Regions from separate parts of the Homo sapiens genome. Here region 1 is linked to region 2. The links are contacts of gene promoters, found by promoter capture Hi-C in blood cells and fetal thymus (Javierre and others, 2016). All regions are on one chromosome and are shown on one strand. The core of a region is centred on a gene start or on the middle of the fragment in contact, and the rest is flanking DNA. Distances in the headings are between cores, read along the strand shown. Region 1 holds the start of TMEM89 (transmembrane protein 89). Region 2 holds the start of CAMP (cathelicidin antimicrobial peptide).

Region 1 (3,582 bases), core at 373-2,872, 400 kb before region 2:
ATTGGCCAGGCTGGTTTTGAACTCCTGACCTCAAGTGATCCTCCTGCCTTGGCCTCCCAAAGTGTTGGGATTACAGGGGTGAGCCACCGCACCCAGCCCCAGCTAGTTTTTGTTTGTTTGTATTTTGAGATGGAGTCTCGCTCTGTCGCCCAGGCCAGAGTGCAGTGACATGATCTCAACTCACTGCAAACTCTGCCTCCCGGGTTTAAGTGATTCTCCTGCCTCAGCTTCCCAAGTAGCTGGGACTACAGGGGTGTGCCAGCACGCCCAGCTAATTTTTTTTTTTTTTTGTATTTTTAGTAGAGACGGGGTTTCACCATGTTAGCCAGGATGGTCTCAATTTCCTGATGTCGTGATCCACCCACCTCAGCTTCCTGAAGTGCTGGGATTACAAGTGTGAGCCACCACAGCCGGCCTTTTTCTTTTTTTTGAGATGGAGTTTTGCTGTTGTTGCCCAGGCTGGAATGCAATGGCGCGATCTCGGCTCACCACAACCTCCACCTTCCAGGTTCAAGTGATTCCCCTGCCTCGGCCTGCTGAGTAGCTGGGATTACAGGCATGAACCACCACGCCTGGCTATTTTAGTAGAGGCAGGTCTCCATGTTGGTCAGGCTGGTCTCGAGCCCCCGACCTCGGGTGATCCATCTGCCTTGGCCTCCCAAAGTGCTGGGATTACAGGCCTGAGCCATGGTGCCCAGCCTAGTTAAAAAAAAAAAAAAAGTTTGTAAGGTCGGGTGCGGTGGCTCACGCCTGTAATCCCAGCACTTTGGGAGGCCGAGGCAGGTGGATCACGAGGTCAGAAGATTGAGACCATCCTGGCTAACACGGTGAAACCCCGTCTCTACTAAAAATACAAAAAATTAGCCGGGCGAGGTGGCGGGCGCCTGTAGTCCCAGCTACTCAGGAGGCTGAGGCAGGAGAATGGCGTGAACCCGGGAGGCAGAGCTTGCGGTGAGCGGAGATCGTGCCACTGCACTCCAGCCTGGGCGACAGAGCAAGACTCTGTCTCAAAAAAAAAAAAAGAATTTCTGTTAGTTACTGGTTTCTTTAACTGTTTGGGACTTAGTTTCTTTTTTTATCTTTTTTGAGAAAAAATCTCACTCTGTTGCCCAGGCTGGAGTGCAGTGGTGCAATCACAGCTCATTGCAGTCTTGACCTCCCAGGCTTAGGTGATCCTCCCACTTCAGCCTCCTGGGTAGCTGGGACAACAGGCATGTGCCACTATACCCAGCTAATTATTTGTATTTTTTATGGAGATGGGGTTTTGCCGTGATGCCCAGGCTGGTCTCAAACTTCTGGGCTCAAGCCATCCACCTGCCTCAACCTCCCAAAGTGCTGGGATTCCAGGTGTGTGCCACTACACCCAGCCTAGGGCCCAGCTTCAAAAGGAGGTGCTCCCTCAGTTTGGGGCCAGCTAGGCCCGCTGGGACAGCAGGACCCAGAACCCAGGTCTGCCGTTGTCCTCAAGCCCTGGACTCCAGCCCCCTGACCACAGCCAGTTTCTGGCCAGGCTGCTCATGAAAGGCCATGGGCCTGGCTGGAACCTGCTGCCTTAGAGCCAGGCCTCTTCCCGGGGGAGGGGCGTTTGCCCGTTGCCAGGTGCCCGGGTTCCGGCCCTGGCACTAGCGACGGCCATGCTGCATGTGCTGGCCTCGCTGCCTTTGCTGCTCCTGCTGGTGACGTCTGCCTCCACCCACGCCTGGTCGAGACCCCTCTGGTACCAGGTGGGGCTGGACTTGCAGCCCTGGGGGTGTCAGCCAAAGAGTGTGGAGGGCTGTAGGGGTGGCCTGAGCTGTCCTGGCTACTGGCTGGGCCCTGGAGCAAGCCGCATCTACCCCGTGGCTGCGGTCATGATCACCACCACGATGCTGATGATCTGCCGCAAGATACTGCAGGGGCGGCGGCGCTCACAGGCCACCAAGGGTGAGGTGAGCACAGCTCTTCTTTCTCCCCCACAGCCCCTGCCTCAATATACGTACGCTCAGTGAGCCCGTCTTCCACCCAACCCTGCCCCATGGGTCCACACTGGCCTGTGGACCTCCCACACCCCCACCCCCAGCTCACAGCCCATTGTCCCTGTGTCCACACACCTTCGTGGAACCCATGTCCACCACCCACAGCCAGCACCCTGCCCCCAACTCTCCCCTTTAGTACCCCTGCTCTCATCCAGCCCCTGTGGGCCCCATGACCACTGTAGCCCACAACAGACCCTCGGTGATCCTCTATCACCCTGAGTCTCCCTCCCATCCCATCTGGGCACTGCCCCACACCCTACTCCCTGCTCCCCAGCTCCATCACTGCCCCTTGTCACATCTCCCTCTCTGCCCACCATTCTCACTCCTGCCTCTTGGTCCTGGTCTCAGCATCCGCAGGTGACCACTGAGCCCTGCGGACCCTGGAAACGGCGGGCCCCAATCTCAGACCACACCCTGCTCCGTGGGGTCCTGCACATGCTGGATGCCCTCCTGGTCCACATCGAAGGCCACCTACGTCATCTAGCCACCCAGCGGCAAATCCAAATAAAGGGGACTTCCACCCAGAGTGGGTGACCGAACATGTGCCTCTCTTTGCCTGACAGCCTGAGGTCCTGGGCCAGGTCTGCTCTTTCCAGGCCTGTCTGGACCGTGTGTCCCTTTTCAGCTTTTAGAGTCAGCTGACTTGGTGTCCAGGACGGGCGGGCAGGTGGGGCATAGGCTGGCTCACACTGCTCCATTGCCCCCACCAACTGACCTTTCCTCCCTAAGGATCCCTCCTGGAGACACAACTGCTCCTCTGGGCTGGGCGTGGTGGCTCACACCCGTAATCCCAGCGCTTTGAGAGGCCGAGGTGGGAGGATCATTTGAGCTCAAGAGTTCGAGACCAGCCTGGGCAACATGGCAACCCCATCCCTACGAAAAATACAAACAAACAAACAAAAATTAGCTGAGCACACACATAGTGGTGTGTGCCTGTAGTACCAACTACTCAGGAAGCTGAGGTGGGAGGATGGCTTGAGCCTGGCAGGCAGTGGTTGCAGTGAGCCAAGATTGTGCCACTGTACTCCAGCCTGGGTGACAGAGCAAGAACTTGTCTCAAAACAAACAAAAACTGCTCCTCTGGCCTGACCAGTACCTGGGGACTCCCTGTGTGATGGGAGAGGACTTACCAACGGGACAGGCTTGGGTGGCTCAGGAAGGGTTGCCCAGAGGAGCCAACAACCTGGCTGAGCCCTGAGGGGAAATGGGTGTGAGGAAGGGAAATCCAGGTGGCGGTCTGGTTCTGAGCAAAAGCCACGTGCTGTGTTTGGTACTCTCTGCACATGGGCAAGGTGGGCAGTGCACATGATAAAGGGCCTCAAGTGCTGAGTGAGGGTACTGGGCCTCTCCAGTGCACAGGGTGAGCTGAGGAGGGACCTGGTCAGCTGAGAAGAGGGGTGGGGGCAGTGGTGAAGCTGGAACCAGATGCTGAGGATCTCTGATGGGGGACTGAGAGCCCCAAGCCCCCATCACTGTGGAGTCGCACACCCTTTGGCTTCACCCATCCTTGTCACCACCTCAGGGAGGTGACTTTAGTCCTGCCATCAAACAGCAGCTGGCTCTGGCT
Region 2 (3,485 bases), core at 649-3,148:
AAAAATCCTTGATTCTCTGGACAATTCTTTTAAACTCTTTGCCAATCTTCTCTTTAGATTTCCGGAAGAAATCACCCAGCAGGGCAAATCTCTTGTTATCCTGGGGTTGTGTACAGGAAGAAACAGGTTCCTTGTCGGGGATGTACCCAGGGTCAATCCAAGACCCCTCCCCACCTAGACGCCCCTCTTCGTGGGCCCCCGCAGGAGCTTTGGGGCCCCAGTTCAACCTCTGGCTGTGACCTTTGAAGCATGTGATTGAATCCCTACACCCAATAAAAAGATGAGAAAACAGAGTCCCGGAGATAGTGAGGGGCTCTGCAGGGTCACACAGCCCAGCCCAGCAACACTGAGATGGGAACACAGGGCTGAGAGCTGAGTACTCTTAGACAGTGGCTCTCAAACTTTACAGAAGCCGGAATCTCCTGGAAAGCTTATCAAAATACGAATTTCTGGGCCCTACCCAGAGTCTGTCTGAGTAGGTCTGAGTAGGGCCTGAGAATTTGCATATCTAACGAGTCCCCAGGAAGGGCTACACTTGGAGATCTACCGCTCTAAGGGATTCCAGAGCCGGCCCTGGAGATGGAACTCAGGTTTGGGGAAGAGCCCTGGGTAGGAGGGGCTTTCTCTGTCCTGGGTTGGGGGAGTAGTTAATTGACCCATTGGATGGTCCACACTCTATGCCCCCATCAGCCCCTGCATCCCAGAACAGCCCACTCACCTTATCACAACTGATGTCAAAGGAGCCCCTGGCCTGGTTGAGGGTCACTGTCCCCATACACCGCTTCACCAGCTGGAAAGGAGAAGCTCAAGGTCAAACTTGAAACCATTTGCCATGACCTCCCAGCCACATCCCAGTGGGAAATATTCCCCAGGTGCCCCCTGTTCAGCTCCTTGGGAGGCACCCACCAACACCCCCAGCCCCCAGCCTCACCCCGTCCTTCTTGAAGTCACAATCCTCTGGTGACTGCTGTGTCGTCCTGGGGCACACTGTCTCCTTCACTGTGAAGCTCACAGGCTTTGGCGTGTCTGGGTCCCCATCCTAGTCAGAGGAGGAAATGGGGAGGCCCATTCTTGTATTTTCTGATTTGTGTCCATGACCTCCCCACCAAGAGGGCAGGCTTTCCACAGTACCTGATGTGCGACGGGCACTGGGTGCTGGGCTTGGCACTGGGGCATTGAGGGGAGGAGGACTGAGCCATTCCTACCCTCCTAGGTGAACAGTGAGTAGGAGCAGACCTCAGATGAGCTCTAACAAGGAGCCCCTCCCACTCTGGGGTGGGGGCAAGGGAAGTCAGGGGGCTTCCTGGGGGACAAGACATGCCCACTGGAACCTAAAGTCTGGATAGAGTTCTTCCCTATGTGGGGTAACGTGGTACAGAAGAGACTTAAAGCAGAGGAGGTCACTGCCCAGAGCCAATGACCCCATTCTAGTGCCTGGAGCTCGCAGAAGTCCCAAAACCTGCGTGGGGTCGGGGTGAGGGTATCTCTGCCACAGCAGGAATTATAAGGCAGGAAGCTCTCGAGCTGGGAGGAGACACGAGCTCTAGAAGGTTCCCTGGAAAACACGGGACCACATTTAAAGGGGGAGATGCCCTCCTGGCAGGCAGTGCAGCAGGAGCAGAAGGAACAACACGTGGCCAAGCCCAGCCAGAGCAGAGCAGAATGTCCCCCAAAGCTCACCATCGTGGGCCTGGGGTCCAGGTCCAGGAGGCGGTAGAGGTTAGCATCCGAGGACCGCTGGTTGATGCCATCTATAGCACGAAGCACAGCTTCCTTGTAGCTGAGGACCTGGGCAATGATGGCCAGAGGCATCACCAGGCCCAGCAGCAGGAGCACCAGTGACCACCGCCCCAGGGAGTGGCCATCCCTTTGGGTCTTCATGGTCCCCATGTCTGCCTCCCTCTAGCCCACAGGAGCCTCCTTTATGCCCAGCCTGAGCCTGATGCAAAAGCCCAACCAGGAGCCTTCCTGATCCACCCATCCCTGGCTGCCTGCCAGGGTGTGGGCTGGGGTTTGCTTTAGCCCCTGGCTATTGCTTCACAGGACTTGCTGGGCAGTGAGTGAGGCCTTCCTTGTGTGCAAGATGAGGAAGTGGTTTCTTCATCTCTGACAACCTCCCAGACCTGACCGGAGATTGTCATAGCCAGGGGTGCTCAAGAGCGTTAAATCCCTCCAGAGAGGAAGAGAGCCAGGTGCCTATTCTACATCCTTCTACTCCTCAGGAGTCAGTATGATGGACTGCTAAATCTCCAGCTCTAGGCATTGCCTGGCACCCTGTAGGCATCGATTAAGAATTGATGAATGAGGCAGGGCACGGTGGCTCACGCCTATAATCCCAGCACTTTGGGAGGCCAAGGTGGGCGGATCACCTGAGATAAGGAGTTCGAGACAAGCTTGGCCAACATGGTGAAACCCCATCTCTACTAAAAATATGAAAATTAGCCACGCATGATGGCTCACACCTGTAGTCCCAGCTACAAGCTGAGGCATGAGAATCACTTGAACCCATTGAACCCGGGAAGCAGAAGTTGCAGTTAGCTGAGATCATGCCACTGCACTCCAGCCTGGGTAACAGAGTGAGACTCAGTATGAAAAAAAAAAAAAAGAACTGGTAAATGAAGACAGTAGCCACCCCCAACCTAGAGACTCACTCTTGCAAGGGACAAGTTGCCCTTTCAGTTCAAGGCCATACCACATGCTCTCTGGACCCAGCCGTCAGCCAGACGAAGGCTCTGCTCCATCTATCCCCTTCTGCATCCTTCTTCACTGTTTTTTTCAGTCTCAAAATGTTCCCAAGCCCCTCCAGACATGGCCTTTCACCATGGCTTCTCCCAAGCCAAGTCTTAGGAAAGGTTGTCTACGCTTCTTGACCCCATCTTTTCACTCTTCTTCATGCTGAAGGCCACTGAAGGCTGGCCAACCCACCCTTGGTCCATGGCCACCCTCAAGCCTGGTCTTTGTCTGCACAGGCACTGGTGAGCCTTCCTTCTTGCTGCCCCGGTCTCCCCTGATGCCACTCTCCTGCTGTCCCTCCTGCCTCCCTGGTGGCTCCTTCTTGGTCTCCCCTAAGGGCTGTCTTCTTAATATTGAGAGCGTGTGGGGTCACCTCCTGGGCTGCTTCTCTTCCCTGGCCTCGGGTTTCCCTGGGGACGCCCTCTCCCAGGACACCAGTTATAATAGGCAGACACCACCCAGTCTGTATCTCTGAGTTCGAGACTCCCATGAACGTCCCGGTTGTCCCCACTGGGCCTCCTTGACTGCTCTTCTGCTGAGTGCCCACTGCATGAGCCCTGAAGCACCTTTGGCTCCTTCCTCCCGAAAGCACTCCCCTCTGGCCTCTCCTTCCACCCCTGCCTGGCTCCTGCCGCCATCTTCTCTCCCATGCAATGCTGCCCCAGCCTCCAGACTCCACCTTCTCTAGGTTTCAGGCTCTCCCCAGACCACAGTCCACCCTCCACACCGTTGTCCAGGGGTTCCTTTAAACC

Evidence for each region. Contacts are between HindIII fragments. The CHiCAGO score rates a contact against its expected background, and 5 or more counts as called.
Region 1: the fragment with the promoter of TMEM89 here is called in contact with the fragment with the promoter of CAMP in region 2 in 1 of 17 cell types (endothelial precursors); the score reaches 6.5 in endothelial precursors.

The regions. Positions count from the first base shown.
Region 1 is chr3:48,619,809-48,623,390 of GRCh38, reverse strand. TMEM89 (transmembrane protein 89) reads left to right here and starts at 1,622. Exons shown (of 2, transcript NM_001008269.3): 1 at 1,622-1,928; 2 at 2,364-2,632. The coding sequence starts at 1,635. The coding sequence ends at 2,549. The HindIII fragment of the contact is 13,468 bases long and covers 1-3,582 here.
Region 2 is chr3:48,221,908-48,225,392 of GRCh38, reverse strand. CAMP (cathelicidin antimicrobial peptide) reads right to left here and starts at 1,898. Exons shown (of 4, transcript NM_004345.5): 1 at 1,681-1,898; 2 at 932-1,039; 3 at 719-790; 4 at 1-100. The coding sequence starts at 1,881. RefSeq lists a silencer at 1,920-2,214 and enhancers at 2,224-2,273, 2,284-2,413, 2,434-2,553. The HindIII fragment of the contact is 1,963 bases long and covers 433-2,395 here.